5 separate regions of the Homo sapiens genome follow, and all the other regions are linked to region 1. The links are contacts of gene promoters, found by promoter capture Hi-C in blood cells and fetal thymus (Javierre and others, 2016). All regions are on one chromosome and are shown on one strand. The core of a region is centred on a gene start or on the middle of the fragment in contact, and the rest is flanking DNA. Distances in the headings are between cores, read along the strand shown.

Region 1 (6,240 bases), core at 1,775-4,274:
TTTTAGCTGTTAGATCACATGGGAGGACAGCATCTTCTTCCCTGCCAATTTCAGATATAATTGGAGGGAGAATTTCAGGTCTTAGACTATAAGGATAGAATCCCTTTGCTTTTGCCCTTGATCACATGTATACTAAGGTATTAAGTGGCCCAAGTCTTTCCTTTCACCAAAGGGCAGGGAGAAGTGTCTATGGACAGCAGGGTTCCAATTCTTGTCATTCCAGGAATATCTGAATATTCCTGGAATGTGGACCCTGAGACAGTGCTCAGGGGCCACTGGGAGCCAATATTAGGCATTGACTCTCAGCCAGGAGTCTGACTGGTCTAACACCACACTGCAACTCCTGACCTCTTGAAGTACTAAGCTACTTTGCTGTTAGTGACAGTTATTACAGTTTCTCAGCCCCATTGTCTCTGCCCTCTGTGGCAATGGAAGGAGAATATAGAGAAGACAAAATTAAATATAGATAGACCTGAGAAGGACAGCCAGGATAGAATTCCATTTGTGCCTATTCCCTGCCTCCCCTCCCCTCCCCCATCCTACCAGTTGGTTATTTTCTCATTGCATACGTGATGTGTTCACTGCCTAGCCTCTCCCTAAAGAAGAGAGAAGACAAGTGGGCTGACTGATCTGCTCTAAATCTACTGTGGTGATTAAATCTTGGTTACAACATCCTGGGAAGTTTCCTGAACAACTGTAAAATAATAAAATTATTTTCAGAATGAAGAGTTTGTGTGTATGTGTGTGTACGTGTGAGTGAATGGATATGTGCACAGGTGTTTCGGTACCTGTGTTTGCATGCTGGGGGGTGGAAGGTGGGTAAGGGAAGTAGGGAAAGGAGGTAGCCAGGAATGGTTATAGGGGTAGAAAGCTCTACATATTCAGGCTTTCTTCTCACTGGCCAATATCAGTGACAGCTGCATGCATTTTTCCAGCCTTAGCTGCTAGACCCCAGGTGATGAATGCAGTGAGGAAATTCTATCCTAATACTGAACCAAATAAGCTGGGCCTTAGGGCATGAAATTGATGCAGGTCCATGCATGGTCCTGGGAGAACTCTTGTCTGGCACATAGTGAAAACATTAGGCCCCTAGGGATCCCTCTGGGTGGGAATGGGAGAAGAGAAGCTTAATAGCATGTAGCAGGTTAGATAGGCATTATTATGTTTTGTTTTGTTTTGTTGGGTTTTTTTTGAGACCGAGTTTCACTCTTTCGCTCAGGCTGGAGTGCAGTGGCACAATCTCAACTCACTGCACCTTCCGCCTTCCAGTTTCAAGCGATTCTCCTGCCTCAGTCTCCCAAATAGCTGGGATTACAGGCACCTGCCACCATGCCCGGCTAATCTTTGCACTTTTAGTAGAGATGGAGTTTCACTGTGTTGGCCAGTCTGGTCTCAAACTCCTGACCTTGTGATCCACCCGCCTCAGCCTCCCAAAGTGCTGGGATTAGAGGTGTGAGCCACCGTGCCCAGCTATTATGGATTTTTATATTAAGTTGCTGCTTGAGAGAAGATAGCTCACTTTCTCAAAGTACAATAAGTGGTTTAATTGAACCAAGTCTGTCTGGCTTCAAGGCCCATTCTTTTTCTGTGTGATACACCTCACTACCTCATCAGTAATGAACTTGTGACATTTGCTAAGGAAAGATGGGACTTCTTGGTGTCATCTCTGATTAATTTCTATATTTTCTCTAGAGAACTATGTACCTGGATGGTGTGTCACATCATCTAGTCTAAATCGTATTTTGACACTACATGAGGATTCCAAGTGATTTTTCTCTTGTACAAACGTACTCTTCCTTATCATAACTTTGGTACCACCATGATAAATAGGTAATAAAGTAGAAGGAATAAATAAAGCTCCCCCAGGCATAGAATCCTTAGATTTGGAAGTGACAGAGGCTTCATATTCCTAATGCAGAAAAGTGCCTGTATCATGGGCCAGTTTCATCCAGTCCTGCTTAAACTCCTTGGAGGATGCACCGTTGTGAACAAATCAAGAAGTCCACAATCAAGATTAGGAAAGGCTAGGTCAGATACAATAACAGACACCCTCAAATTCTCAGTAGCCAAAACAAAGGACTATTTTTTAGTGAAAGACTCCAATTCCCCCACATGGTGGATGGGGCTCCACTTGTGTTCTTTCTCACTCAGGGACCCAGTCTGCTGGAGGAGCCAATATGGAGAATTGCAGGTTGCCTTGGGCAGTGGTGAAAGCATGGCAAAGCTTGCAGTGGTCTTACGGCCTCCGCCAGAAAGTGGTATCTGTCACTGGCCAAAACAAGTCACCTGAGTAAGTCTGACTTCAAGAGGGAAGGGAGGGGCAGCAAGTCTTGACACGCAGTAAAACAGGATACCACAAAGACCTTCTTCCATCAGCTGACCAGCACCTGGTTCTTTCAGAATTCTTCCTACGCTCTAGAGCCAAATCTTTAGTTTGTTAGCTCAGACTCCACAGTGCCCCAAACAAGCTAGGAAACTCTCCTTCCATGTCTTGCCTTTTCCCTCATGAGTTATTCTCTTCTGGCATTCAATTGGTCGACGTTTATTTGAACATCTATATGAAAACTCCACTTTTAAGTGCTGTGGGTAATATAGGGGTGAGTTTCTTTTTAAGTCTTATGCTTCAAAACCCACATATAAATCACTTTTCCCATAAAGCCTTTCTTGATGAATACACCCAATACCAAATGCTCTGAATTCCTTTACTGTCTCAAATGTAACTGCCACCCTATTTAGGACACAATGCTGTTCTACAGCATTCTCTAATGTGTTTTCTGGTTGAATGTTTGTTTCTCTCACTGGATTACAAACTCAGAGTCAAAGCAGCATTTTCTATGACTGCTCTATGACCCCCATTGTCAAAACCTTGCAAAAGACCAGGCACAGAAACATTTAATCCTTTTAAAATTTAAGTGTCTAAAGCAGAAGGAACTGACTCAAATTTCAGGAAGTAGCTGTGAGGATGGGGTGGCAGGAAATGACGAAAACCTGAATACGGAACTGAAGCAGCAGCTCAGTTTCTCACTCCGAAGTGGCAGCAGCCAGAGAGGGAGTCGGTGTGGACGCGAGGAGCCGGGCGCTTAGAACAGAGGCTTGCACAGGTGGAGGTGGGTACTCTGAGCCATGGGACAGTTGGGAAACACAGAGTAAGAGTTGAGGAGGAACCTACCTGGCTCTTAGTCCTTGGTGATGGGCAAGGTCACCACTAGTAGGCTTTTATCCTTTTATGGCCAGAAGGCCTGGTTGTGAGTGGTTGTAGCAAATCAGCATCTGGAGATAGAAACAAAAGGGAGGGGCTTAAACCCAAGGCAAGTGTTTCAGGAGCCATCTAGCACCAACATCAAGCAAAGTGTTGCCTGGTTTCTGCTGACAATCTACAACCCACTCTAAGGCCTGTCTCCCCTAGGTACTGAGCTGGGAGGAGGACCACAGGAGACGAAAACAGTGTCTGCCCTTGAAGAGCATATGGTCTCAGGGAAACAAACCCACACAGGAAATGTAACAGATCAGGAAGTAGTCACTGATGTACACTAGCACTGAGTACCAAGTGCTGATGGAGCCCAAGAGAAGGCATGATTGTTCTGCTGGGGCTAGTTTCTGTGTTCGTAGATCACAGAATCTCAGAATGTCAGAAATCAAGGAGACCACAGATGAGCTACGTTAACCCCTTCATTATTTTCCACTGGGAAAATCAGAGATAATTGCTGATTTGCCAAATTATTAAAGTTAGTATTTCTTAATCGCCTGGTCTGATACCTGGCAAATGAGTACCTACTCTGTTGATGCCCTTGTGATGGTCCCTCAGAGGCTTAGTCACAGAGCTGGGGTGACAGCCAGGGCTTCTGACTCCCAGTCTGTGTACTTTGATGCAGGAGGTCAGCATCGCAACAAGGCCTCACCAGATTACTCTCTGGTTCTCACCTCTAGATAGCACTTCTTACCTTTCTGGTTTCTGGTCAATAGGTCAAGGATATTAGATAAATTGTCTCTATTTCAGAAACTCTTTATTTCAAAAATGGGTGAATGGGAGAGTCAGGCTGAGGCCTCAGAGGAGCCACAGGAAGGAGGATGGGACCATCAGTCCTCATTGCTTCCTTATTGCTCATGACTATTTCAGAAACTTCTCCATTCCAGTTTTCTGTGTGACAGTCCTTTTGTTGTTGCACAGCAGCCCAGGAGCCAGGGGATGAGAAGCAGAGGGGTAGTAAGGATGCAGGTAGTAAGGATGTTTTGCTGTCTCCAACCGCATCAGGGAAAGCCAAGCTGCTTTCAGCCATGACTCCCGGCTGACTCAGTCAATATCTCTCCGGTGTCCCCTTAGCATCTCTTTAACTGATTTACCCAGACTTCCCCTGGGCTGGTTTTTAAGAGGTTGCTCAATGGAGAAGATGGAGCTTTCAAGTGGAAATAGAAAACTGGAGAATCTGAAGGCCTAGGTGGAGACAGGAGAACCCGAGGAGTGGTTGTAAAGGGACTCTTTGGAGACGATGGAGAGCATGGGGAAGGTCTCCAATGGGATGAGGTGTCTGAGGAGGGAAGGATTGCCAGCTAGCAAGTGCTGCCAGGGTCAAGAAGTCTCAGTGGTGACCACAGCAGATGAGCATTGTCTGTTGTTACTTCTTCACACCAAATCCACAGATGCAGAGCAACTGTGCCGCTCTTCCTTCTGCACAGTCCGGAAGGCCGTCTAGAACACTGGGAATGCCCCAGCAGAATAAGTTTGGCACCCTTCCAAGCTAGGGTTCTCTAAATATTTCTGCAACATTTATTTAGTTGATAAAAACTGAGTACCTCTTAATGTTCAAAATCAGATTTATTACATATTATTCTTTTTTCTTTTCTACGGTAAATTGTCAACTTGAAAACATGCTATTTTTTGACTTTAGCAATTAATTGAACCATTTTTAAAAAATTGAGTAATAACTGACTTATTCCCAGCAAATAATGCTCTCCCAATGCATTGTTCCATGTGGAAATTTCAGCCGACTGTCGCTGCTGACCTTACACAGCTGTGAGGTGACCAGACTCAGGGTGGAGGTGGGACAGCACTTGGACCAGAGGCTGGAAAAATTCTCAGTGTAGTTCAGCAGGTTGTAAAGAGGGATGTAGATGTTCACTTTGTGAGAAGCAGAACCAATTTGTATTTCAACAGCAACAAAGGAATCATATATAGAAACCTGAGTGAAATAAGGCCATAATTCTAGGGATATTATAGCACCGCTCATTGCCAACCACCTCCAGCCACTGCCTGGCTGGCCTCGGGACACAAGTGAACAATTCCAGCAATTTTGACTCGTGGGTTACCTAGTGTTACCCACACCCATGATGACTTCTCTCTAGCCCCAGGTGGGCCCAGCCCACATCAATTCGTCTTGATTAAAGTCCCATCTCTCATCTTGTAACTGAGCAGAAAAGCCTTCCTACAACTCCCATTTGCTTTGCTTCATTTTCTATTTTCTTCTAAGAAAAAAAAAATGGCAGGAAATATTGGGCTGCTATATTTTGACTTCAGCATTCCTATTTTCCCTCCTCTTGATCCTTTTTTGTCCCTAATTATTCCCATCTCCGGTCACTCTCAGATGTGGAAGTCTGTAGTGGGCCATGATGTGTCTGTTTCCGTGGAGACCCAGGGTGATGATTGGGACACAGATCCTGACTTTGTGGTGAGTTTGGAAGTAGCTTTGCTTGGACAGTGCAGAGGGTGGGGTGAGGAGGGCATCTGGGCCACTCTGTGATCTTTGAGGATGCTTGGAAAAGGGCCTTCTAGGACTGAGACAGCCCTCATACTGGGACTAATTGGTAGGACAATTGGCTGTCACCTGTGGGGCATGCACGATACCTGGTATCAGGGATGAAAAGAGACAGGTGTGGGTGAGTTTGACAGTGTGATTGACAGGCCATGGCAGGCTACACTGAAGGTGAGAAGCAGGTGAACCTGGGTCTCCCCTGGCCCATGATCCAGGATTCAAGCTGGGCATGTGTAATTGGGGGATTAAAAAGCTGTAGGAGACCAGATGGGGTAGGCATGAAGTAGGCAGAGGAGGAACGGAGGTTTCAGAGCTCACTAGTTTAATTCTTTGTGTTTTCTTGTTTGTTTTTTGAGACAGAGTCTCACTCTGTCACCCAGGCTGGAGTACGGTGGTGCAATCTCAGCTCACTGCAACCTCTGCCTCCCAGGTTCAAGCGATTCTCCTACCTCAGCCTCCCAAGTAGTCCCTGCAGTTGGGACTACAGGTGCAT
Region 2 (6,240 bases), core at 159-2,658, 1.9 Mb before region 1:
ATTTGTAATTTTTTAAGAAGTCCTAACATTTTATTATGAAAAATTTCAAACATACAGAAGAGTTGAAAGAATTGTATAGTGAACATCCATTTTTATTTAAAGTAGGTGATACATTGTTAGGGTTAAAAATGAAAAACATGAGGGAATACAGTGAAAATCTTTCCTCCCACCTTTCCCTTCTACCCAGCTCCCCTCCCTCGAGGCAGTTAATTTTGTGTATCCTTAAGATGCTGATGCAAGCAAATATGTTTATACATCCCCCTATCCCTTTTTAAAATAAGACAAATGCCAATATATTAATATTTTTACAGTTCAGCACCTTGCTTTTTTTTCACGAAGAAGAAAATATATCGTGGGAGGATCATATATGTATTGCTAGTATTAGAAATGGTAGGTGTTGGAACCTAGGCTCAGAGAAGTTGTGACTTGCATGAGATCATAGAACTTGTTAGTAGAAGTTCCAGATCTAGAAATCATTTCTCTTGACTCACAGGTCAATGAAGAACTAGTACAGATACAAGCTTTATATCACATCAGTGGTCACATAGATTGATTTTTAAAAAAACATCCAGGAATCTCACTGTGTGTATTAATATTTATATATAAAATTCTTGTTGTCTTAGCAAGAGCCGGTGAGGGCATTGGACTGGAGAGGGATTTTGAGGTACATTGGTAAGAAGAAAGAAGTCTATTCCTGAGCAATGAACATAGAGAATGGGGTGGAGGGTAAGGAGTGGTATCTTAAACCAGGAAGATAAATTGGGATTGTGAGAGCAAAGTAAGCTTTTTTTTTAAGGCTGTTAATGGTTGTACCAGTTACACCATTAAATAATTTCTTCTTTTACAAACTCTTACTTGATGTCCTTATGTGATAGTTTTTGGAAATAGCATAGACCACACACACCCCATTGCCTAGTTGATACTATACATTTATCTAAATCCTTCCAGGAGACATACCTTAATAAAAAGGTCCATTTGTTTTATTATGGAACTTAACAAAACATTGTGTTTATTTTTGAGAAGGACAGTGGAACAAAAATATAACATTCACAGCTGTATGCTTAAGTGCTTTCCTGTTTCGTGGTTTGTATTGATCTGGCTTTCATTTCTGCATTGATTTTAGGAAATTTGGCTAAAAAACTTTTTTTTTTTAGCAAGAGCCCTTTATTCGTAATTTTAAAAGGATAGATTTTAAGGTATGGGTAATTGTTCCAGTGAGACAATTATAACAATAGTTTAAAGCATCTTCTTTCCACCCTGTAATTATTAAAAACCCTTTAACTGCACAGGCTGTTTAAAATTTTCCTTTAACTGTTTTTTTCTCGTCTTAGATTTTCTTGGCACCTGATTTAGTGGCACAAGGACCATTTTAGCTTATTCCTTTCCTTTTGGCCTTGATCTCAATAGCAAAGTTGCCAAAAAAATGAGCTCCAGATGGGTGAGGTGCCACTATGCTTTCACTGAGCCCTCTTGGTAAGGTGCTGTCGGTGTTGCAACATTTCAGTGCATTACAGCTTGGCATTTGAGAGCTATCGTCCATAAATCCAGGTTACTCATGCTTGAGGTCACCTTTAGCAATATCTTTTATTGCCACAGCTGTGTGTTAACCTAAATGCTACTTTTTTTATTTTTATTTTTTCCTGATTGCTGTTTTCTCTTTTACTAGGTGGCTGGTTATAGCGGTTGGTCTGGTCCGAGCATACCTGGCTAAGGGTAGCTACCATAGCCTTTATTATTCAATTGAAAAGCCTTTGAAATTCTTTCAAACTGGAGCCTTATTGGAGGTAGGTCCTGAGATTTATTGTTGTTATTGATTTCCATTGGTATGAAGAAAAACATGCAACTAAATTATATTGAAGTAGCATACCCCCTTTGGATTCATGTTAAATTTTGAAATTTTGCCTCCTCACATACTAAAGTGTTGATACCTAGGCTTTTTGATGTTCTAGATTGGGTAGAATCTCATTTAACTTAGGTTACCTTGAATGTATTTTATATTCGACTTTTTTGGGAAATCAACTGAAGCAAGCTTATATTAGGATTTTTAAAAATTCTAGGGACATCCTGGGGAAGCACTGGCAAAATCAGATGCTTTCAGGGTTTATGTAATAGAAATAGTGAAGTTGGTGGGTGTAGGATATTGGAAGTGATAGATAGAAGACATAATAGAGAGCCTGTCTAGAGGCGTCCAAATTTTAAAAATTTAACAAAAATGTATTGATTTCCCTGCATTAAGGGCAATGTATATCCAGCCCTCTCTCTTGGGGTAAGTATAGATTAGGATTTTGGAATTGCAAGGGACAAAAACCCAATTCAAACTATTTTAAGCAAAAAAGGAATTTTCTGGCCTCTGTAGTTGATACAGATACAGGATTAATTTACAAAGAAACTAGCTCAGGAATGAGAACCAAGGAGCTGACACTGCCAGATTCTCTTGCTTTCTCTCATTTCTGCTTGTCTGTTTCTCTTTGAATGTTGGTCTTGGGCTCTCCACATGGTGGGAAACAGGGAGGGTGTTTATTTTTCGCAGCATCTGTGTCACACAGTTCCCAGAGAGGATTCTGGTTGGCCCTACTTAGACTATGCCAGTGATGTGAGGTGCTTGATTAGCCAATCTTAGGACACATGCCCATTCTTCTGTCCAAGGGACTATAGACTTTGCTTATGGAAAAGAGGGATGGGGATAGCTTTGGGCACACAAAATCAATAGCCGCCATAGTTCGTATATTTCATTATGGTGAAAAACCTTCAGATTGCAGGGAAGATCTGGTTCATTTTGCTTAGCCTCCAGGCAAGACCATCATAACATTTATACTTTACTGGCAACTTTTAAAACCTGAACTATGGAATGATACTTAAGAAAAAATCATTTATCTCGCTGGGCACGGTGGCTCACGCCTGTAATCCCAGCACTCTGGGAGGCCGAGGCGGGTGGATCACGAGGTCAGGAGATTGAGACCGTCCTGGCTAACACAGTGAAACCCCGTCTCTACTAAAAATACAAAAATTAGCCGGGTGTGGTGGCACGGGCGTGTGGTCCCAGCTACTGGGAGGCAAGGTTGCAGTGAGCTGAGATCACGCCACTGTACTCCAGCCTGGGCAACAGAACGAGACTCTGTCTCAAAAAAAAAAAAAAAAAAAATTCTTTATCTCATGAAATGAAGTGTGATACCTCTACCTTTCATTCTCAATTTTTTTTTTTTTCTTGAGACAGGGTCTTGTTCTGTCGCCCAGGCTGGAGTGCAGTGGTGCCATCATGGCCGTGGCTCACTGCAGCCTTGAACTCCTGGGACCAAGCAGTCCTCCCACCTCAGCTTGCAGAGTAGCTGGGCCCACAGGCTTGCACCACCATACATGGATAATTTTTAAAACTTCATAGAGACAGGGTCTCCCTGTGTTGCCCAGGCTGGTCTCAAACTCCTTGGCTCAAGCAATCTTCCCATCTCAGCCTCCCAAAGCACTGAGATTACAGGCGTGAACCACTGCACCCAGCCCACTCTCACTTTATTTATTTATTTTTTTGAGAGAGGGTCACTCTGTCACCCAGGCTGAAGTGCAGTGGTGTGATCACTGCTCACTGCAGCCTTGACTTCCCAGGCCCCAGCCATCCTCCCACCTCATCCTCCCAAGTAGCTGGGACCACAGGCGTGCACTACCGTGCCTGGCTCATTTTTATATTTTTGGTAGAGGTGAGGTTTGGCTGTGTTTCCCAGGCTGGATTCACTCTCACGTTCTAGATCAGAAAGTTATCCATTTTGCTTTTGTTTTTTTCTCTTAGAAGGCAGAGGAATTTCTTTTTTTCTTTCTTTCTTTTTTCTTTTTTTTTTTTGACACAGGGCCTTACTCTGTTGCCCAGGCAGGAGTGCAGTGGTGGGATCTCGGCTCACTGCAACACAGAGGAATTTCAATAGTGTCCAAACTTAGGCATTTTAAGTAGGTGGTATGATGAAATGAGCTTCCAGCTGGAAGCCTGAGTACCTTTTTATTTTAAGTATAATAGTTTTCCCAACTGACTCTATAGATTTGGGCAAGTCTTTTCTCTCGTATCCACCTCCTTTTCATTTGTAAATAATTAGGTTAAAGTAGATTTCTAAAGTCCCTTACTACCCTAAATTTGAGTGTGAGGAAATTTTAACAAATCCTAATGTGAACCATTTTTTAAACTTAGAGGCTTGAACTTTTTTTGGAAGCGGACACTAGTAAATAAGTAGTACTTTCTCTTTCAGAACCTTGGCCAGTACAGTTCCCACAAGCTACAGAGAAGCAAATTTGGAGTCAAGACCATCAGACTTCCAGTACTTGATATAGTAGGGGGTTGTCCCCATTTGGAATACTTCAATAATTTAAAGGGGTTTCTATCTCTTTAAGACATCATAATATTAGAGCTGAGCACAGTGGCTCATGCTTATAGTCCCAGCAATCCCAGAGCTTTGGGAGGCCAAGGCAGGAGGATCACTTGAGGGCAAGAGTTCGAGACCAGCTTGAGCAACATAGCAAGACCTCATCTCTACAAAAAAAAAATTTTTTTTTTTTTAGCTGGGCTGGGTGGTGGGTACCTGTAGTCCCAGCTACTTGGGAGGCTGAAATGGGAGGCTTGAGCTTGAACCCAGGAGTTTGAGGCTGCAGCGAACTATGATTGCATCACTGCAATCCAGCCTGGATGACAGAGTGAGACCTTGTCTCAAAAAAAAAAAAACTTGGTAATGTTAGAAGTATAATTTTTAAAATTTAAGTATATCTTATGGAAGGTAGGGACATTAAACAGTGTCATACTTTAAAATCCACTCAGGAACCAAGTCTTAGACTTTGAAGGATTAGCCTGTTTATCCTTATAGAATTTTTAATAGGGATTTAGGAAAATATCTTGGATTTTTGGTTTTATCTCTGTTATCCCCACTAAGAACCAATTAAGTGACAAATCCTGGATTTGATTTTGGGAAAATGTCTGTGCATAAGGAAGTGAAGACTCCCAGGAACATGCAGGCAATTAACGTTGCAAAGGTCAGTGATGGAAGTAATCCCTTGGACTGGGCGATAGAGCAGGCTTGCTAAAACCACAATTTCTGTGGTTGAGGAGTTTTTCATTGCCTACCCCATCTACACTGTGTAATAATTAGATGTGTGTGGTATTGTTTAATTACACATAAGTTATCCTGATGGGAATTATTAGTGTTGACATATATCCTGTTTACAGGAGGAGAAAATGAATCCAGGGAAGGCAGCTACTCATTTATATCTCTTTATGCTAAATGTTATTCTTTATTAGGTTCTGTGGGAGTTTACTTAAAAAGGAAATCGAAATTACTTGTTCTCCAATTTCACATCTTCTTAAGAAAATAATAACACTTTGCTTTTTAAAAGACATAAAAACATTTACCAAGCAAGTACAAAGGAGCATGTAGTAGCAAGGTACAAAAGGAAGCCTGGCTGAGTACCATGGCTCACACCTGTAATCCCAGCACTTTAGGAGGCTGACATGGGGGGATTGCTTGAGGCCAGAAATTCAAGACCATCCTGGGAAACATAGCGAGACCCCATCTCTACAAAAAATTAAAAAATTGGCCAGGCATGGTAGCACATGCCTGTAGTCCCAGCTAATCAGGAGACTGAGGTGGGAGGATCACTTGTGCCCAGGAGTTCAAGGCTACAGTGAGCCATGATCGTGCCACTGCACTCCAGCCTGGGTGACAGAGCAAGACCCCATTTCCAAAAAAAAAAGTATCTATAAATAAAATGCTACTCATGGATAAAATGTGGTCTATGGATATAAACATTCATAAAATTAATAAAGGCAAATGAATTACTGATATATGCCTGGATAAATCTTGAAAAAATGCATGTGAAAGGAGGCAGATACAAAAAGTCACAAATAGTATGATTTCATTTATAAGAAATATCCAGAATAGGCAAATCCATAGTGACAGAAAGTAGAGGAATTGTTAGGGGCTGTGGGGAGAGAGAGTGGGGTGTGACTGCTAATGGTACAGGATTTCCTTTTAAGGTGATGATATTGTTCTTGAAATAGTGGTGGTGGGTGCACAACTCTGTGAACATATTAAAAACCACTAGATTGTACAGTTTAAAATTGTGAATTTTGTGGCATGTGAATTATATGTCAGTTTTTAAAAAACGAGTTCCTCTGTAATGAGTTGTGGGTGTTTTCTACTTTATTCATTTTTGGAGTCCATGATATTCATTGATGAGGCAGATGTTATCTTTGCATATTTGTCAAGTATAGTT
Region 3 (6,240 bases), core at 2,655-5,154, 1.5 Mb before region 1:
TTTTAAAATACTTTCTGCACTCCTGCATTCCTGTGCTTTGTTCATAATCAGTAGAAGCAGAAAGTGGCAGTCCATCTCTGACACGAATGACTGAGGCAGATAAAATCATAGACATTTCAACCAACAGAGAAGACCTAAAACAAAATGAACAATTTGGGTTACATAAAAATTAAAGCCAAACTTGATAAGCATATGTAAAAATGTTCAACTTACTAGTAATATAAGAATAGTAATTAAAATGGCCAGGTGTGGTGGCTCACACCTGTAATCCCAGCACTTTGGGTGGCTGAGGAGGGTGGATCACAAGATCAGGAGTTTGAGACCAGCCTGGCCAACATGATGAAACCCCTTCTCTACTAAAAATACAAAAATTAGCCAGGCGTGGTGGTGCACACCTGTAATCCCAGCTACTCAGGAGGCCGAGGCAGGAGAATTGCTTGAACCCGGGAGGCAGAGGTTGCAGTGAGCCGAAATCGCGTCACTGAGCTCCAGCCTGGGCGACAGAGTGAGACTCCGTCTCAGGAGGAAAAAAAAAACAAAAAACTAATTAAAACAACATACTATGCTTCACTTAACATATAGCTTTTGTTTTTTGTTTTTTGTTTTTTTTTTTGAGACAGCATCTTGCTCTGTCACCCAGGCTGGAGTGCAGTGGCGCCATCTTGGCTGACTGCAACATCCCCCATCCAGGGTTCAAGCAATTCTCATGCCTCAGCCTGGGTTCCCATGCCACAGCATAGGATGTGGCTGGGACTATAGGCGCCTGCCACAGTGCTGGGATTACAGGCATGAGCCACCACACCCAGCCACATTAGCTTTTTAAAAAATAATACTTCTGTCTGGCATTCTCATAAGTACAGATGGAAGTAAAAACTGGTACAAACAGTTCTCAAAATGATTTGGCAATTTCAACAAGAGTCTGAAGGCATACCTTTTAACCTCAATAAATTTAAATATATACCTGTCTTGAGAAAAATAATCAGAAATCCAGGCAAAATTTTAAACAGAAAGACATTCTTCCACTCAAATAACTGAAAGCAATCTAAATATCCTATAAAATGGTGATGGTTAAGTAAATTATAGTATATTCATATAACAGAATATAATGCAGCAACTAAAAGTTATGTTTGTGGAGAAAGTTTAATAATGTGGTAAAATGCTTACATGTTAAGGAGAAAAAAGTAGGATAAAAATTGCAAATGTTGTTTTACACAAACATAAGGATAAAGAGACGAAGATAAAGAGAAGGAAAAAGGGATTGAAAAACGGATGCAGAAAAAGATGCCAAATTAAGAATATGCTCACCTCTAAGAAATGGTATTATTGGTTATTATTATTTTATAATTTCCTAAATGTTCTCAATATTCACAGTAGACATATACTACTTTTATAATCAGAAAAAAATTATTTAAAATAAATCCTAAAGCTAAAGGAATATTGGTTTTAATGTTGTTCTCAATCTTTTTACCAGAAAGTAAATCTTAATGGCCTATTTTATTGGATTCTCTTCTTGCTTTACAAAAACAGATGAAAGGACTTCACAGGCCTGAGTCTGAAGGAACTCAGGTCAACAGTCACTCAACCTTTCATAAAATACACAGTGGCTCTCAAACTTTAGCTTGCATAAGAAGTTGAAAGTTTAGTTAAAAATGCAGATTTCTGAGCTCTGCCCTCAAAATTCTGAACCACTGACTGTGGGATAGGGCTTGACAATTTGCTTATTGTCTAAGGCCCATACTTTTTAAAACATTAAATTAAAACATGTTCACTATCTAAGATTAAGTGATAACTCTTCTCTGTCAGGCCATCAAAGCACAATGTCACTAAAGGCTTCCTCACTAGTGGTGAGGCAACTGGTGAAAATTCAAAAATCTGATAAAAATCTCACAGGCATTTTTCCAAAAATATTGTATCTTAGAGACTAAATTAATCCTTACCTGCCCACTTAATCTAGGTCAATATTATCTCATTCCAAAAAGGAAAAAATGAGTAATATATATAAAAAAAAATACCACAGAAAACCAGTTGTTACAAAGCTTGTAAATCAGGAGCTGATAGTTTTCACTGCTGTGTGAAGTCAAAATATGACTTCCCATTCATGGTGATAACTGATCTGACAATAAAAATTAACCCAACTAATAAATCTAATGCATTAAGTTCACTATCCCTTTTTCCTCTTTTCATGAGGAAAAAGGAGAAATCTCTAGGTGTTACTGTGTCATTACCCTTTAATATTTTTCTCCTTCAGAGACAGGGTCTCACTGTGTCACCCAGACGAGTGTAGTGGTGCGATCTCAGTTCACTGCAACCTCCACCTCCCAGATTCAAGCAATTCTCATGCCTCAGCCTCGCGAGTAGCTAGGATTACAGGCATGCGCCACAACACCCAGCTCATTTTTGTATTTTCAGTAGAGATGAGGTTTCGCCATGTTGGCCAGGCTGGTCTCAAACTCCTGGCCTGAAGTGATCTGTCCACCTCAGCCTCCCAAAGTACTAGGATTACAGGCATGAGCTACCACGCCCAGCCTCTCCATTCATTTAAAGAGAAAAATATCCAGAAGCAAATTAGTCTTTTTACTACAGTGGAGTCTTCAAACTGAAGTCCCAGTGTGACATATCCCAATTGGTGTTTTTTTCCATTCATCTAGTTTTTTTCTCTCCTAAAAGCAGTAGCATGAAAAAGTTGGGATCCCTGAAGAGATATCTATACTATAAACCCCTCTTTAATTTTTTTTTTACCATGTTTTACTTAATTATTAAATCACAATTGTAACATTTAGCCTAAGTGTAAGAAAGTAGGAAAATGTCTTACTCTATCCCCTTAAGCGTTTATTATTTAACTATAAAACTGTTGTCTTTCCAGAAGTACACTGCAACACAATAACCATTCTGGGAATTAATTTGAGGGTGAGTTGTAACTTGCAGTTCTAAATACCCACATTTTAGTATTTAAAAGCAGATTGGATGGGGTGCCATGGCTTATACCCATAATCCCAACACTGCTTGAGGCCAGGAGTTCAAGACCAACCTAGAAACATGGTGAGGCTCTGTCTCTATAAAAAAAATTAAAAATCAGCTGGGCATGGTGGCACACGCCTATAGTACTTGCTTTGGGGAGGCTGAAGCAGGCCCAGGAGTTCAAGGCAATGGTGAGCTATGATTGTGCCACTGCAGTCCAACCTGGGTGATGAGAGAGATCCTGTCTCAAAAAGTAAAATAAAAGTAGACTGTATTATTTTATGTCTGGCCTCTCTAGGATCCTAATAGAAATATTATGAATAGACTTCATTAATAGGTTGCCAAATTTCATGTAGTCTTCAAAGTTATTCTTTAGTGACTTGGAGGACAGATCAATAAATATATGATCCATGCTTTCTAAAACACATACTGTAAAAAGAATACAATTTGTAAGTTCCATTCGTTTACCAAACATTTACTGAATATCTAATGTGTCCCATGAATTATGCCAGATAGCAGGAATGAAGAGTCCTACCATCAAGAAACATCACTCCTCAATTAGAGAAACTCAGTTGAAAAGAGCAAACAATGCAGGTGTGTTGCCCACCACTTCACTAACTGGAAAACTAAAGTTGGACAAACTTACATTTCAAATACTCCTTTTTTTGTTGTTTTTTTGTTTTGTTTTGTTTTGTTTTGAAACAGGGTCTCACTCTGTTGCCCAGGCTGGAGTGCAATGGCTCACTGCAACCTCTGCCTCCCAGGTTCAAGCGATTCCCCTGCCTCATCCTGCCAAGTAGCTGGGATTACAGGTGCCCGCCACCATGCCTGGCTAATTTTTGTATTTTTAGTAGAGATGGGGCTTAACTGTGTTGGCCAGGCTGGTCTCAAATTCTGACCTCAAGTGATCCACCTGCGTCGGCCTCACAAAGTGCTGGGATTACAGGTGTGAGCCACTGCGCCCAGCCTCAAATTTTCCTAATATGTACTTTAGCCTTTAACCAAAAGCAGAACACAGTAGTTACATTCCCTGTCAAAATTATTACAAGGTTGTCAGAGAATGGTTTCTACTTATCCATAGATAAGATTTTTCTTAGGGAAAAAATTAAACCTCTTTCTACCACAGTAATTTGATTCAGCATCCAAAGCACTTGAATTTAAGCCTGACAAACGGGGATGAATGTCCAATGATCAACGTCAGGCTTAACTAATTTGTAGACAGATTCCAACCACCTTAGGCTAAGCTGTCTCTCCATCAATTCAATAAACATACCCCTACTTTTTTTCTTTTTACCACGGATTCATAATATAGTTTGTTTTTTTTTAAACTAATCTTATCTGGACTGTGCTAGCAGAAAAGGAAATCTGTCCATGTCAGGCCTAAGCTAGGTTAAAGTATCTTTAAGGTCTTAAGGAGGGTTGTGGTTGGGAAAATCCCAAGGAAGAACCAGTGGAACTGTGGAAAGCAAGAGATTACAACAATTGCATGGGAAGATTTAGGAGTTTTTAGCTTATCGGGGCCATAGATAAATGTTTAGGGCACTGGGCCATTTCTCCTCACCTTTAATACAGAGAAAATATTACACCTGCCTTTGTACAGCAGCAGTTAACTCACAGGGAACCTGAATAGTGGCTATTTTTTCCTCTCCCCATCAGCAACTGTTGGAGGAAAAAGCACAAGCTAGAATCTAGGTAAATCTGGGTAAACTTTTATGTAAAGGCTGAGGAAAATAAATTCCCACAATGCCAAACTACTATAGTAGTGGTTAGCAAGTTCCTGGACCCAAGATAATAAGACACCCCTCTTCTTCAGAACCTTGTAGGGGTAATGACTACAGGCTCAATGTCTCAGGAAGTTATCTCTCAAAAGGTAATAAACAAAGCCCAACATGTAAGTGGATTTTGTATATACGTTCTAACCAAATGCTTTCACAAATGCCACTTTTAAGATAAAAACATTTTATACTGGGGGCAAAAGCACTCATATTTATTTTAGTTCATAACTTCCCAGTCTTCAGTCATCCAAGTACCACTTTCAGAATTATCTTCATCCACCTGTACTATTTACCTAATATTGGTCTTTGAATTGACTTACTTTTCTTGTCCTTTATTTTTTAGCAATAATATCTGTGAAATCAGTTTTGAGATGTTAAGTTTTTCTCCTAATTTAAATTAAATGAACTTGTTTCATTCAAATATGTATGTGTGTGAAAATTTGGGGAGAATTTTTTAATGTTCATTTGCTTATCAAATTATCTTGCATATGTGACAGTACCAAAGTTTGGGAAACAATACCAATATGGTACATATTATTTTATTAAAAGTGCTCGCTGAGGGTGGGGGATAGAGTGGGTGATAAAGGGGATGGAATTTCCGCCATTTTGCCTATGCCTTCTACCTCACTAGCAGTGTTCGACATTCCTATTATGGGTGCTTGCACTGCACAGTATGTATAAGACCTCAGGCTTCACAACAGATTTTACCCACATCTAGGACAGGGCCCCCAATACATGCTCAAATGTGTCAATCCCAACATTTTTATAGTGCCACATAGTTCACGGTTGGGTAGGTAAAACCACCATTTTACAGATGAGGAAACTAAGGCTCACTTTCTCAATGTCACACTGCTAGTATATAGCAGAACTGGTACTTCGGTCTAAGTTTCTAGTATCTCTACATCACTATGCTTCATCAGTCTCCCAAAACCAACAAGACACAAGAAACCAGGGATATAGAAACTATCTATTCACTTGCTGCCTGGGTTCTAATCCTGGCTCCACCATCTACCAGCCATGTAAATTTGGACAAGCTTTGCCTTTCTATATCTCAATTTCCACATCTATATATTGTGGCTACTAATAGCATCTATCTCATAGGCTTGTTTTAAAGATGACAATAGTATCTATCTCATAGGATCATGTAAAGTGCCTGAAACATTGCCTTGTAACATGCTAAAAGCACTACATTAAATATTTGCTGTATTATTTATTGATTACTCTCCATGGACCACGCACTTTATACACATTACCTCATTTAAGCGTTCCAAAAACCTGTGAGATAGGTATTATTAGTTCCATTTTACCTTTGAGGAAATTCAAGCCCAGAAAGCTTGAGGAATTTTTTTTAATCCCTAAACGAGTAGGTGACAAAGTAGGGATTTAAACTCAGGCCCAATTCTAACAACTCTGTGAGACACTCAAGGAAGGTCACAGGCACCCCTGTGATAAGACCTAGGCCTCTTTCATATACCAACATAAGATATACTTCGATTTTAACCAGTTG
Region 4 (6,240 bases), core at 1,789-4,288, 1.1 Mb before region 1:
AATGCATGATTATTGTGAAGATTAGAGTTAATATGTGTAGATTATCTAGCATAGTATCTGGCAGGAATTGGATATTCAAGAATCGTGACCATTTTTATTATTAATAGAAAGTGCCAGCCTTAGTAACTGATGTTGAAACTGAAAGAAAAGAAATTAGAGATGTTATGTAAGAGAATGAGAAAAATAAATACATTAAATAAAGTCAAGTGAAAGGGTCAGTATGTTCAGTACAATGATGAATACAATGGGAGTCATAGAAAAGTTCATTTTTAAAATTTTTGGTTTATTTTTTATTTTTGTAGATACAGGGTCTCACAATGTTCCGTAGGCTGGTCTCGAACTCCTGGCCTCAAGTGATGCTCCCACCTCAGCCTCCCAGAGCACTGGGATTTCAGGCATAAGCCACTGTGCCCAGCTGAAAAGTTCATTTTTGAGCAAACTTATTCCATTATCAAAAAATATTTGAATGGCACATGGTAAACAGACCTTTTTCATGTGGTAAAGCAAAAGACAATCTTTGCCCCAAAATAATTATAAATATCATTTTTGGCAATAAAGACATAGATAAAAAGAACAGTAGTATAAGACATATCCTAAAGGTCAGATGTAATTAGCTGGGATATGATACTCAATATGATACACATTAAGTACTTTGGAGGCTGAGAGGAGAAGGAACTAATAGAAATTGGGTTGGTTTGTGCTTCCTAGGATAATTTCTTGAAGATGAGCCAGGTGAGGATACCAATTCTACTAAAGTAGAAATAATGACAGAGAACCTGGGTGAAAAAGGGGAAGACTTGTATCCATTGAATCCAGAGAAGAGCAGGGTGAAAACAGAAATGCTGAAGTGACGAAGAGGGAAATCATGGGTTTCAGTCTTTGCAGAAAAATAGAGCAAGGTACCACAAAAGTAAGGAAGTAGAGAAAGGTACTGGAGATTTGAGAGTGAAGAAGCATCCAGGCATGCTGGTGCATGCCTGTAATCCCAGCACTTTGGGAGGCGAGGCAGGCAGATCGCTTGAGCTCAGGAATTTGAGACCAGCCTGGGCAACATAGTGAAACCCTGTCTCTACGGAAAATACGAAAATAAACTGGGCATGGTGGCACACGCTTGTAGTTCCAGCTGCTTGGGAGGCTGAGGCACAAGAATCGTTTGAACCTGTGAAGCGGAGGTTGTAGTGAGTTGAGATCGTGCTATGGCACTCCAGCCTGAGCAACAGGGCCAGACCCTGTCTCAAAAAAAAAAAAAAAAGAAGCTTTGGCATGATTGCCATAGGGTTGCGGGTGATTAGGAGTGATAGGAGTGAGTCAGTGCTTGGGAGCAGGAAAGGGTAACTGGTAGAGGTGAGCATAAAATCGTGGAACTAATCACCTTGGTTATGCTTGATAGCTCATTCTACAGAAGTGGAGAAAACAAGTGCTTAGTTTCAATAAAGTTTTATACATTGCTAAAAATCAGGTATTCTTATACAGTTATTTGAAAGAAACATTTGTTTAGCATCATTTTATGCTAGGCACTGGACTAACCTCTAGGGAGATAAAAGTAAGAGGTCTGCCTTCAAGAATGTGATATTGTTTGTTTGAAATAACAGCTTAGAAATAATTAAAAACAAACATGAAACTACTTATTGTTAATTAAGAATTAATTTAAATTCTGAATGTGAAATGTTACTCTCAGAATCATACATAGATTGAAGCATTCAGTGAAATTAAAAATTGCAGTTATTTGAGTGTGATTCTATCTTTCAAACTGAGGTTATTATATTTCTCTCTATTGGGCTGTTTTTTAGTTTTTAGTTATAGCCAAGATTATTCCTTGATAAAGAGGAGAATGTGTTAGTAACTCTTCTTCCAGTGCTTTCTGAGGAAATATCTCATCTAGAGTTGTATGGAATTGATTTTCACTTAGAACTAACATTCCTACATAACTGGATTTATCTTTTTCAGTTGGAGACCCGTACTCACCATGTCATTTTTGTTCTCATTTTTAAAAGGGGCAAAGGGTGGAGGAGTTTAAAGAAAAGCAAAAGTCTGTGTTATCTCAAAAAGTAAAAAATTCCCATGTTAGAATCCATATGTAATTCATAATGTAGATAAAATTTTTAATTTCACTGAATGCTTGGTATTGATGAGTATCAGAAAAACAATACCATTTGTTTTATTGTGGTAAAAACATATAACATAAAATTTACCATGTTAACCATTTTTCAGTGTTAGTAGTGTTAGGTAGGTACACAACATTGTGAAGGTGATCTCTAGAGCTTTTTCATATTGCAAATCTGGAACTCTGTATCCGTTAAACAATAACTTCCCTTTCTCCTCTTCCCCCAGTCCCTGGTAACTGCCATTTTATTTTCAGTTTCTAGAAATTTAACCACTTTAGATACTCCATATAAGTGGAATCATATAGTGTTTATCTTCTTGTGACTGGCTTATTTCAGTTAGCATACTGTCTTCAAGGTTCATCCATGTTGTAGTATATGATAGAATTTCCTTCCTTTTTAAGGCGGAATAACGTTCCATTGCACGTGTAAGCATTTTGCTTATCCATTCGTCAACAGACCTTTGAGTTGCTTCCACCACTTAGCTATTGTAATAGTGCTGCTGTGAACATGGGTGTGCAGATGTCTTTTCAAGACCTTACTGTAGAATACTTTTGAGGAAAAGTAAGATAAAATAATCATTTATTTTAAATTATCGAAAATTCACTTGGGGAGGCTGGGGTTCAATGGAAACATTTGGGTAGAAATTTTGGAGGTACGTTGCAAAAACCTTTAGTATTTGAGACATCATTCCTTCTAGTGTTAACTTCACTTAAAATATAGACAGATTTCCTTTTTCTTGCTTTGGTTTGAGACTAGTATTACTTTTGAATTTATGAGCCATTTTTTGAGGTAAAGATAAGTTTTCTGGGTTAACTGAACAAGGGTTTATAAGTGTAGGAGGATGGAAAGAAGCTAAAAGGCTCATGAACCTTTGGTAAGTGTCCAGGATGTAACTGTCTCAGGTGCCCAGCCTGAACTTCCTGTGTGTTTACTGCCACACCAAGCATTGGTATTGATAAGGCTAGGTCATAACAGCCGCAGCACTAATGTTTGTGGGTTTTTTTCAGTGATAGACATCACCTTCTAGACCTTGAAATTCAAAGGGTTTATGGTTAGCCGTCATTGTACTTAAGTATTATGTTACCTTTCAGGAGAATTTTCTTAGTTTGTGTTGACATTTTAAAATAGTGGTTACAAAATGAAAAATTCTTTTTGGTGTAAGTTTTACCATTCAGTCTTCAGTACTAATCCAGTAATTTTGTCAGATAGTACTTGCACGATTCCATCAGGTTTTTCTAACATGACCCAAATGGTCATTATTTTTTGCCCTAATATCTACCATTCCAGAGGTTTTAAACTTTCTTATATGTATATACAATAGTTGTTTGATGAAACACCATATATACACTTAGATGTATACATTCAGAAATAAATGATCTCACTGTGCCAGGACCCAGTTTTAAATTCATGCTGTATCATTATAGTGATTCTCTGTAGTGTAATGTGTGACTTACTCTTATGTCAACTTCTAAAGGTTTTTAAAAATCTTTAATTTTTTCATTAAAATTATATCTGATGAGAGACAAGTTAATTTCAATTTCAAGATTTTTGTTATATTCTGTTAATATTCGGAGTGTCCTGGACACATGGTAAATGTTCCTTATTCTTGTCTTAAAGTCTAAATCTCAGATACAAATCCAGGCCAGGTGTTAATTGACAGACACCAGATAGTTGGCGTTCTCAGAGAAATTAGGTTTCAAATTATCTTGTACTTTACATTAATTTTAAAAAATTACTGAGAAGGACGCAATTTATTTTTGATGATGTTTCACTATCTCCAAAGAATTAGTTGCAACTCAGGCTGTAATAAATTGACTGGAGAACATCCTACATTTGGAGAGAGAAAAAACTATTGGGTAACACCCAGATCACTAATCTGTTTTTTTTCAGTAGTTTCTAAATCATCTAGTTAAAAATTACTACCTGCTGCAAGTTTAGACCTAAATACCCTTATCCTTTGAAGACTGTTGAGGTTGCTTCAGAATTTTTATAGCTCTTTGCAAAATATTATTAGCATGGAATAACTGGGTGCATCCATAGGCTGTTTAACTAATACAGGGTAGCATTGCATTCTTCTTTAAAGGAAATTGTAACATTTAAATTCATTAATTTAATGGCCCAGTTTATTGTTGATTAAATTATCAGAAGCTAAATTAGTTTTATCTCACAACCAGCTGATTGTTTTATTTCACGATGGGCCTGAAATTCTGTAAATATGCTAATTTCCTGTTATGGTGAACATCCTGCTACTCTGCTTTGCACACACTTCATAGTGCTCTCATTCATTTAGCAAATGTTTTGGCATTTAATATATACCAGTCACTAGGCCAGGCACTCTCTCAGCAAATTTTAGTGTTGGAGGTCTCCTATTAAATAATCTCTGGGATGTGTGGGATTTTTAGATCAGATAATTACATTTTTTAAATTTAACTTTATGCTAGAGAAGAAATATTTACTTCTTTATAGCTTTTTTGTCAAAATACTACTCATGTGTTACTGTCGCCTGTGTCCATATTTATAGAAGGCTACCCAGTTATATCTACCCAAGTATGAACCATTTTGGGAATAATCAAAGCCATGTGATCTATTGGCTCTAATGTAAGGTAAGTAGAATAAATAAATCGCTACCCCAAAGTAACTCATGCTTCTGTTTTTCTCTGCCCTTTAAAGTTCCAGAAGCAAAATGTTCAAAGGTTGAATATTTTACAAGCTTGGAACTGAAAGAATGCTACAGTGTGTCAGACCAGCCATGATTCATCCAGCCCAAGCCACAGAACAGTGTAGAGGGAGAATATGGTTATCCTTGAAAATGATGGCCTCAGAAAGCAAGGTGTTATACCAGCTATGAATTAATAACAGTCTAGACTAGAAGGAATTTTGTTTTTTTTTTTAATCTAAAAGGATTCAGGAGGTAGTAGTTGGTTCAGTAGCACAAAGATGAACATATTTGCATTCTTTTGGTTAAGGTTTGCGATTTCCTGGACCTTTCATTTGTCTCTCAAGAGGGCTAATCATCATGTCTGCTTTTCAGGCAGTATATAGAAAAGGATGAGGGCAAAAAGGCTGACTCGCAACTTCCATATGTGCGCGCGTGCACACACACACACACACGCACACACATGGAAATTATAGATATATATTCCCTATCTATCTATCTATCTATCTATCTATATTTGGCTACTCCTGTCTGCAAAGAAGTCTGGGAAATAAAATTTTTCAGTCAGTCCTGTTGCCCAAAGTTCTTTAGTAAGGAAGAAGAGAATGAGTATTGGGTAAGTAGAAGTTAAATAAAAAATTATTCAGTGACACTTGTTAAGGCATGGTAAGGAAGACTATTCAGGACCATCACCATAGATGTAAGGACTACTGTAACGGGGTCCCACAGCTGGGGAGAGAGATTGGGCCCAACTCCAAAGACAGCATGGGCAAGTGAGAATTTACAGCCAAGGAGCAGAGTCAGTGGATAAGAAATTACTAAGAGGAAACATCAGGGGTAAGGGGAAATCTGGAAAAACCAACCTAACAGGATTCTTGCTGAAGGCAGGCCAAGGTGATCAGATACCACCTGGAGGTTGGCTGGGGGTGAAGAACCTGATCAGATATCAGGGATGGGGGCAATTCTTGCTAAACTGACTTAGCAAGGTTCTTTCCTAAAACTGGGTTTTACAAGGAAGTGCATAGATGGACCTAGCAGAAGAATTAAAGCCTGACTAAAGTTTGGCCAAGCAAAGAGTCTTTGTCACAGGCAACTAGCACTCCCTGCCATGAGTGCACGTGCACATACACTCATGCACTCCTCAAAACATTCCTCTCTCCCTGGAGCACATGTGAATGATTATCTATGAATTGATCTTGAGCTTTCCTGTGTATCCTTTCAGGTTATATTTTTTCTTCTGAGTTTTTAGCCCTAGTTAAATCACACAGTCAATTCTCTAGAAATAGGATTGTGCAGTGGAAAGAGCACTGGACTTGGACTGAGGGGACCTGATAAATCTGGTTCCAGTCCTCTGACATCTAAGCTTCCATTTCTTCCTTCAATTAATGGAAATGAATTACCGTCTCTGCCTGTTTTACAGGCTTCTTATAAGATCACATGAGCACTTTTAATGTCTGTAAAAGTGCATTGTAAACAGTG
Region 5 (6,240 bases), core at 2,108-4,607, 1.0 Mb before region 1:
ACATGAGTTTGGTCACAATCGTGAGAATAATGTTTGCCCTAGTATAAAAAATATTTTGGTGCTCAAAGTATAAAAAATATTTTGGTGCTCAAAGTGAAGCTCACCTTAGTATTATGCTATTTGTTCTTCTTGTACAGTCCTATAATTTTAGGCTTCAAAGTTGACTTAGATTAACATTAATACCTCAAAAAGGAGGAGCATAATAATAAATTATTATAGCTTAGCATGTGTCACACACTATTCTGAGTGCTTTACATATATTTAATTCATTTCATCCTCACAACAACCATTTGAGGTAGAGACATTATTATTATCATCCTACTAAAACTGAGGCTAGGAAAGGTTAGATAACTTGGATAGGGTTACATAGACTGCAGATAATTCAGCTGAGATTCAGTGGTTGTCCAACCCCAACGCCCATCCTCTTGCCCCTCTACCAAATCCAAGTTATCATCACTGTCCTCTGAGAGCCCAGCCCCACAGACTATGATTCAGTAAGAACCACACCTCCTCCTGGCCCTGCTGGAATCTCCCTTTTCCACTTCACTGGGTGTGTTTGCATGTGTGTGCATGTGCATGCTCTTCTCTTCCAAGCCCCTCCTCGTTTTGTGTAAGTTATTAAGCAGAGCATCTGCAGAAAGGGAATCAGAATGTGCTCCAATAACAACTTGGGTTAAAAGAGCAACCTTTGTGGAAAGATGTTAAAAATAACTTCACCTTGTGTATGATTGGGTCCTAGAGCTGGTATCAAGCATGAGGGAAAAGCAGTGGCCTTCAGAGGCCCAAACATATAGCTTCAACTTCCCTGTGGCAGCCCTGAGCTTTATAGCTTCAACATGGCTCTGTGGCAGCCCTGAGCCTGGGCAGTATTTATGATTACCAACTTACTGAGCACCATCAGGCACCAGGCTCTTTGCTGGTATTATTTCATTTCAACCTCACAGCATTCCTCTAAGTAACCAGTAATGTGAACCCCATTTTACAGATAAGAACACAGAGGCTTAGGTGGGTTAAAGTAACTCGGCCAAGATTACAAAGCTAGTAAGCACCAAGGCCAGGAATCAAACTCAGGTCTGTCTGACTCAAGAACCATCACAGATGTCACCTTAATATGCCTTAAAGTCTCCATCCTGCTTTTCTTGTCTGTAAGGACAAAGTTTATCTAACTGTGCAGATTATTAATGGGATTGTGAGATACTGTAGCAGAAAAAACAGCAAAAGATCTTACAGACATAGGTGTTCAATGAAAATTCTCTTAAGAAATAAAACAGATTTTGTGAAGTTGAACCAAATAATTTTACAGTAAAATGCCTAATTTTTTCCTTTCAAGAAATCTACATAAAACACAATATTGTACAATAAATTCTCTTTTAAACCAAGCTCTATCTACCATCTGCCTCATTATTGGCAACCCATTGTGAATGGTGAAATATCCTATAAGAAAAATTAACGTTATAGGTGAACAGGAGATTTGGAAAGAGGAGAGAAGTTAGGGTATATGTTATGGGACCAGAATACCCAAGTTCAAATCCTGACTATGTCACTCACTAGCTGTGTAATCTTGGGCAAGTTATTGGACCTTTCTGTGCTTCAGTTTCGTCATGTGCAAAACAGGGATTATAACAATCAAGATGCCCATAAGACTGTCTGAATGCACTTGGTAATAACCTGCGAAGCTATGCAAATGTAAGTTAAAATTAAAAGAAGGAGAAGCTAAGCTGGGTGCAGTGACTCACGCCTATAATCCCAGCACTTTAGGAGGCAAAGGAGGGAGTATTGCTTGAGCCCAGGAGTTCAAGACCAGACTGGGAAACATGGCGAAACTCCATCTCTACTAAAAATACAATATATTAGCTGGGTATGGTGGCATGCACCTGTACTCCCAGCTACTCTGGAGGCTGAGGTGGAAGGATCACCTGAGCCTGGGGAGGCTGATGCTGCAGTGAGCCATGATCATGCCACTGCACTCCAGCCTGAGAGACAGTGAGACCCTGTCTCAAATACATAATAAAATGAAAATAAAAAATAAAAAGGAGAAGCTAGAGAACATAAAAGAAAGTCAGTAAATCACAGATGGTGGAGGACAGAGAATGAGTGAGTTTGGAGGAGGAGGTGTGGTCAAAAAAGTTAGATGGTGCAAAGAGATCAGGGAGAAAGGGAACCTTTGAGAGTGCCTCATAGAGTTTACATGAATAGCTCTGGCAGAAAATAAACCTTAATTAAATAGTACTTAACATTAGTTGTATATGTGCAGAATAGCCCTTCTGAGGACAAACCCAACAGCCCCATGCCCTAAAGATGTTTGAAAGCCCTGAAAATATCAACTCTCACCACAAACTGGGAGGTTAATTTCTAGGGTAGAGGATTTTATGTACCCCTCTCTCTCCCTGGGCCCAAGACCAGGCAGAGGGAGATTTGAATATGTGACAGAAGCTCCTCTTTGTCCCTTTGCCCAAGGAATAGTAGGTCTTTCATTCCATTTTAATTCAAACCATACTTTCATCCAGTTTTCCCAACACATGAAAACTGAGTTGGGAAAAGGGAGGTTCCTTCAAGTACCTTGTTGAAACAACTTCTCTCAAGTGGGTGGCATACCACATTATCCTATGTCATGCCCCACCCTGATTAATCCCAGGCACAGTTTTCCTTCTTTTCCCAAGAAGCCTGGCCCCCTAATTCCTTCTGCTCAGCCTTGACTTCTGAACACAAGTGGAACCTCCAAGCTGACCTTGCATATGCCTCAGAGAACTGGCAGTCTATATCACAAAACACTCAGAAGTGTTTCTCTAAGGTTCAGCTAGACATGGGTTTCACAGGGTCACTCCAAACAATAGTCCAGCAGGCATCCACTGGTCATGTGAAACCACTCCTGTCCATTTTTGAATGATGATACAATAGGTGAAAGGAGTGGTACTTTATAGGAACTCTATGAGTTGCTGAGTATTTCTTTACCTAACCTTGTCATAATTAATTTGAGAGCTTCTATCAAGTGTGTGGCTAAAACACAGATCATCTCCTTTTTAATATATTATTTCAAAGATCCCAAGAATATATTTTTCAGCCCATCATAGGTAGAGACTCATGAAAAAACCTCCTTATATCTTTCAAAAACTTGATTTTGCTTCTCTAAAGTCTGAATCACTGGCCTTATTAAGCATCATATCGCAGATGAACAGGATTATTTATTCAATTCCCAAAGAAATACATAAATAAACAAATAAAACACATCAGAACTAAATTTATAACTATTAAGCTCTGCTAATAATGGCCTAGATTATGCCAGGTATGACAGGTTAATAAATATTACCTTTTCTGTCAAAAAATTCAATCAGAGCTGAACTCTCTTCAGGAAAATATTCAACATTGGCAACTCTTCCCCCTCCATTATAGGGATTTTCAAAGAAAAGTTTTAAACTGTAGTCATCAGCACCAGGTGGCAGGTTTTCAACCCTGATTGTGTTTGTCACTTCCAGAAGTCTTGGAGAAAGCTGAAGTTGTTTAATTGAATGGTGCTTGGTACAATCATCAACAAATCTTATAGTATCTACAAACCAAAAAAAAAAAGAAAGAAAATCAGTAAATTTTTATTGTATCTTTATGTTGTATAGAAGAAAATGTCTGGCTACTAATTGAAATAAAAGGAAGAGCTAAGCACTCCATTTTTAGACACAAGATTTTAATACCTACATGAGAATTTACATACCTAAAACTCCCAGTCGCTGGGCGACACACACACGAATGTCTTACTTGGATTGCTGCCACTGAGCTGTGTCCCCACTTCCTGCCCCAGACCTCACCAACCCTCCTGAGGGTTTTCCCTACAAATCTCATTTCACCCCTTTCTCAAGCCCTTCAATGGCTCCCCATTACCTGCAGGTATGAGCGTTGACACTCCTCAGCCAGGTGTACAATGCCCTTGGTGATGTGACTCGAAACTAATTTCCAAGCATCACCTTCGGTTATTCCCTGCCATTCATTTTATTGTCCGTGTTGCCACAAAAACTAGTCATTATTTTTGTAAAACCCCTTCTCCTTGAAAGGGTCTTTGTGTATACAATTTCCTGCATTTGGAATGCTCTTCTCTAGTTTTTGTCTTGATCCTATTCATCTTTTAGGACTCAACTCAATTGTCTCTTTAATAATAAGTATTGGCCGGGCGTGGTGGTTCATGCCTGTAATCTAAGCACTCTGGGAAGCCAAGGCAGGCGGATCACCTGAGATCAGGAGTTCGAGAAAAGCCTGGCCAACATAGTGAAACTCCGTCTCTACTAAAAATACGAAAATTAGCCAGGCATGGTTGTGCGCGCCTGTAGTCCCAGCTACTCAGGAAGTTGAGGCAGGAGAATCACTTGTAGTGAGCTGAGATCACGCCACTGCATTGCATTCCAGCCTGGGCGACAGAGCAAGACTCTATCTTAAAATAATAATAATAATAAGTATTGATGGTGGGCCCACGATGTGCCAGGCACTGTGCTAGGATCTGAGGATACAGAAATAAATATAACAAATCTTTGCCAGTGCATCATCCATGTGGGAGCAAGTCTTGAGAGCAAATAAATTGCCTATTGTGGGATCAAATGAGGTGGGAAGACTAATACTGGGAATCAGACAATGGTTCCCAGAGTAAGTGGCTCTGATCTGGGTTTTGAACAATGAAGAGGGGTTTACCAGATGGATAGGGAAAGATCTATGTCAAGCAGATGGAATATATTCTGGACATTATGAATATAAACTTCACAGAAGCAAGACCAAGCCACCTTGTTTGGGTCCCTTTCCTCCCATTTCCCACAGCTTTTTGTTCACAGCTTAGAGACAGCTTCTTCTCTTGGACCTTCTTTATTTGTTTACATATGGGCTTCCTCCCTGACCCCAGGCTATGAGTTTCTCAAGGGCAGGAACCTGATTATTCATCTCTGTGCCCACAGCACCTAGACCAGTGCCTGGCACATATTAAGCATTCAAGATTCTGATCGATGAACAAAAGCAAGTCCATTTAGTTTTTCCTTTGTAAGAAACAGTAATAAATTTGAAATAAGAATAGCTCCCTTTCAGTCATTACTACGTCTCAGGTACTACGTTAAGTTGTTAAGCACTTTTCTTTTTCTTTTCTTTTCTTTTTTTTTTTTTCAGACACGGGGTCTCACTCTGTCACCCAGGCTGGAGTGCAGTGGCATGATCTTGGCTCACTGCAATCTCTGCCTCCCAAGCTCAAGTGATCCTTCCACCTCAGCCTCCTGAGTAGCTGGGAGGACGGGTGTGCGCCACCATGCCTGGCTAATTTTTGTATTTTTTTTGTAGAGATGCAGTTTCACTATGTTGCCCAGGCTGCTCTCAAACTCCTGGACTCAGGCAATCCATCTGCCTTGGCCTCCCAAAGTGCTGGAATTACAGGCGTGAGCCACTACACCTGGCCCTATGTTAAGTACTTTTCAAACATTATCTCATTCAATCTTTACAAAAACTATATTAGGTAGGTATTATTGTACCATTTTATAGATGAGGAAAGTGAGGCATAGGGAGGATAATAACTTGGCCAACCTCATATAACTAGTTAAATGGCAGAGCTGGAATTTTGACTCCATGACCTGTGCTCTTAACCGCTCCACTGCCATGGCCATGGAATAGTGAAGGCTTAGAATTGGAAAATGTACTTGTTTTGGGTGGTGACAGCTCTCTTCCCAATCTCAGAGATTGTCTACAGATTCCTGACAATTACCTTAAAGAGCACTCATTGTCTGCATCACACGCACTTACTCATACCTACATATGTGAATGACCATGAAAGTGCTAAGGACATATCAGGTAAAGAGGTAAGAGGACAGGTGTAGAGATAGGCTGCCTGGGTTCAAACCCAGTTCATCCATGCATTCGCACCTTTGTGTTTTGTCTCCCCAACTGTAACATGGGGATCAATAATAATAATCTCATAAGGTTTTGGAAAGGACAAATAAATTAATACACGTAAAGAGGCTGGCATAGCACCTGGCTTATAGTAAGCACTCTATGAGAGTGTGTTATCATTACCTTCCATGAAGTCCAGTTTGGTAATACAAATATTTACTTCACCCAGTGAGATAACACATGTGAAAAAGCCGACTCCTGTACTTGGAATCACTTGGACTTCAGATGTCTATTTGCTGTGTTCACGCACTTTCTTACCCTCTCTGCCTGTCTCTCTCTCTCTCTCAGTCACACACACACACTTGGGCACTCCTGCAATAAAGTTAATTCTACTAAAAA

Evidence for each region. Contacts are between HindIII fragments. The CHiCAGO score rates a contact against its expected background, and 5 or more counts as called.
Region 2: a fragment that was not itself captured here is called in contact with the fragment with the promoter of HCLS1 in region 1 in 2 of 17 cell types (total CD4 T cells and total CD8 T cells); the score reaches 10.7 in total CD4 T cells.
Region 3: a contact is called between a fragment that was not itself captured here and the fragment with the promoter of HCLS1 in region 1, in 1 of 17 cell types (total CD4 T cells). The highest score is 5.3, in total CD4 T cells.
Region 4: a contact is called between a fragment that was not itself captured here and the fragment with the promoter of HCLS1 in region 1, in 1 of 17 cell types (monocytes). The highest score is 6.3, in monocytes.
Region 5: a contact is called between a fragment that was not itself captured here and the fragment with the promoter of HCLS1 in region 1, in 1 of 17 cell types (monocytes). The highest score is 5.1, in monocytes.

Annotation. Positions count from the first base shown.
Region 1 is chr3:121,657,687-121,663,926 of GRCh38, reverse strand. It overlaps HCLS1 (hematopoietic cell-specific Lyn substrate 1), which reads left to right and starts at 3,024. Exons shown (of 14, transcript NM_005335.6): 1 at 3,024-3,107; 2 at 5,580-5,663. The coding sequence starts at 5,580. GOLGB1 (golgin B1) reads left to right here. Exons shown (of 22, transcript NM_001366282.2): 22 at 1-726. RefSeq lists enhancers at 2,752-2,801, 2,992-3,181. The HindIII fragment of the contact is 5,970 bases long and covers 2,227-6,240 here.
Region 2 is chr3:123,577,756-123,583,995 of GRCh38, reverse strand. HACD2 (3-hydroxyacyl-CoA dehydratase 2) reads left to right here. Exons shown (of 7, transcript NM_198402.5): 2 at 1,667-1,784. Among named protein-coding and RNA genes, the nearest start is that of HACD2, 4.2 kb to the left of the region's middle. The HindIII fragment of the contact is 1,246 bases long and covers 786-2,031 here.
Region 3 is chr3:123,203,093-123,209,332 of GRCh38, reverse strand. It overlaps SEC22A (SEC22 homolog A, vesicle trafficking protein), which reads right to left. Exons shown (of 7, transcript NM_012430.5): 2 at 1-134. The coding sequence starts at 115. Among named protein-coding and RNA genes, the nearest start is that of SEC22A, 4.3 kb to the right of the region's middle. The HindIII fragment of the contact is 3,731 bases long and covers 2,039-5,769 here.
Region 4 is chr3:122,784,877-122,791,116 of GRCh38, reverse strand. All of the region lies in intron 1 of HSPBAP1 (HSPB1 associated protein 1), which reads left to right. Among named protein-coding and RNA genes, the nearest start is that of HSPBAP1, 5.8 kb to the left of the region's middle. The HindIII fragment of the contact is 3,559 bases long and covers 1,259-4,817 here.
Region 5 is chr3:122,692,730-122,698,969 of GRCh38, reverse strand. PARP14 (poly(ADP-ribose) polymerase family member 14) reads right to left here. Exons shown (of 17, transcript NM_017554.3): 5 at 3,308-3,544. Among named protein-coding and RNA genes, the nearest start is that of PARP14, 15 kb to the right of the region's middle. The HindIII fragment of the contact is 7,781 bases long and covers 1-6,240 here.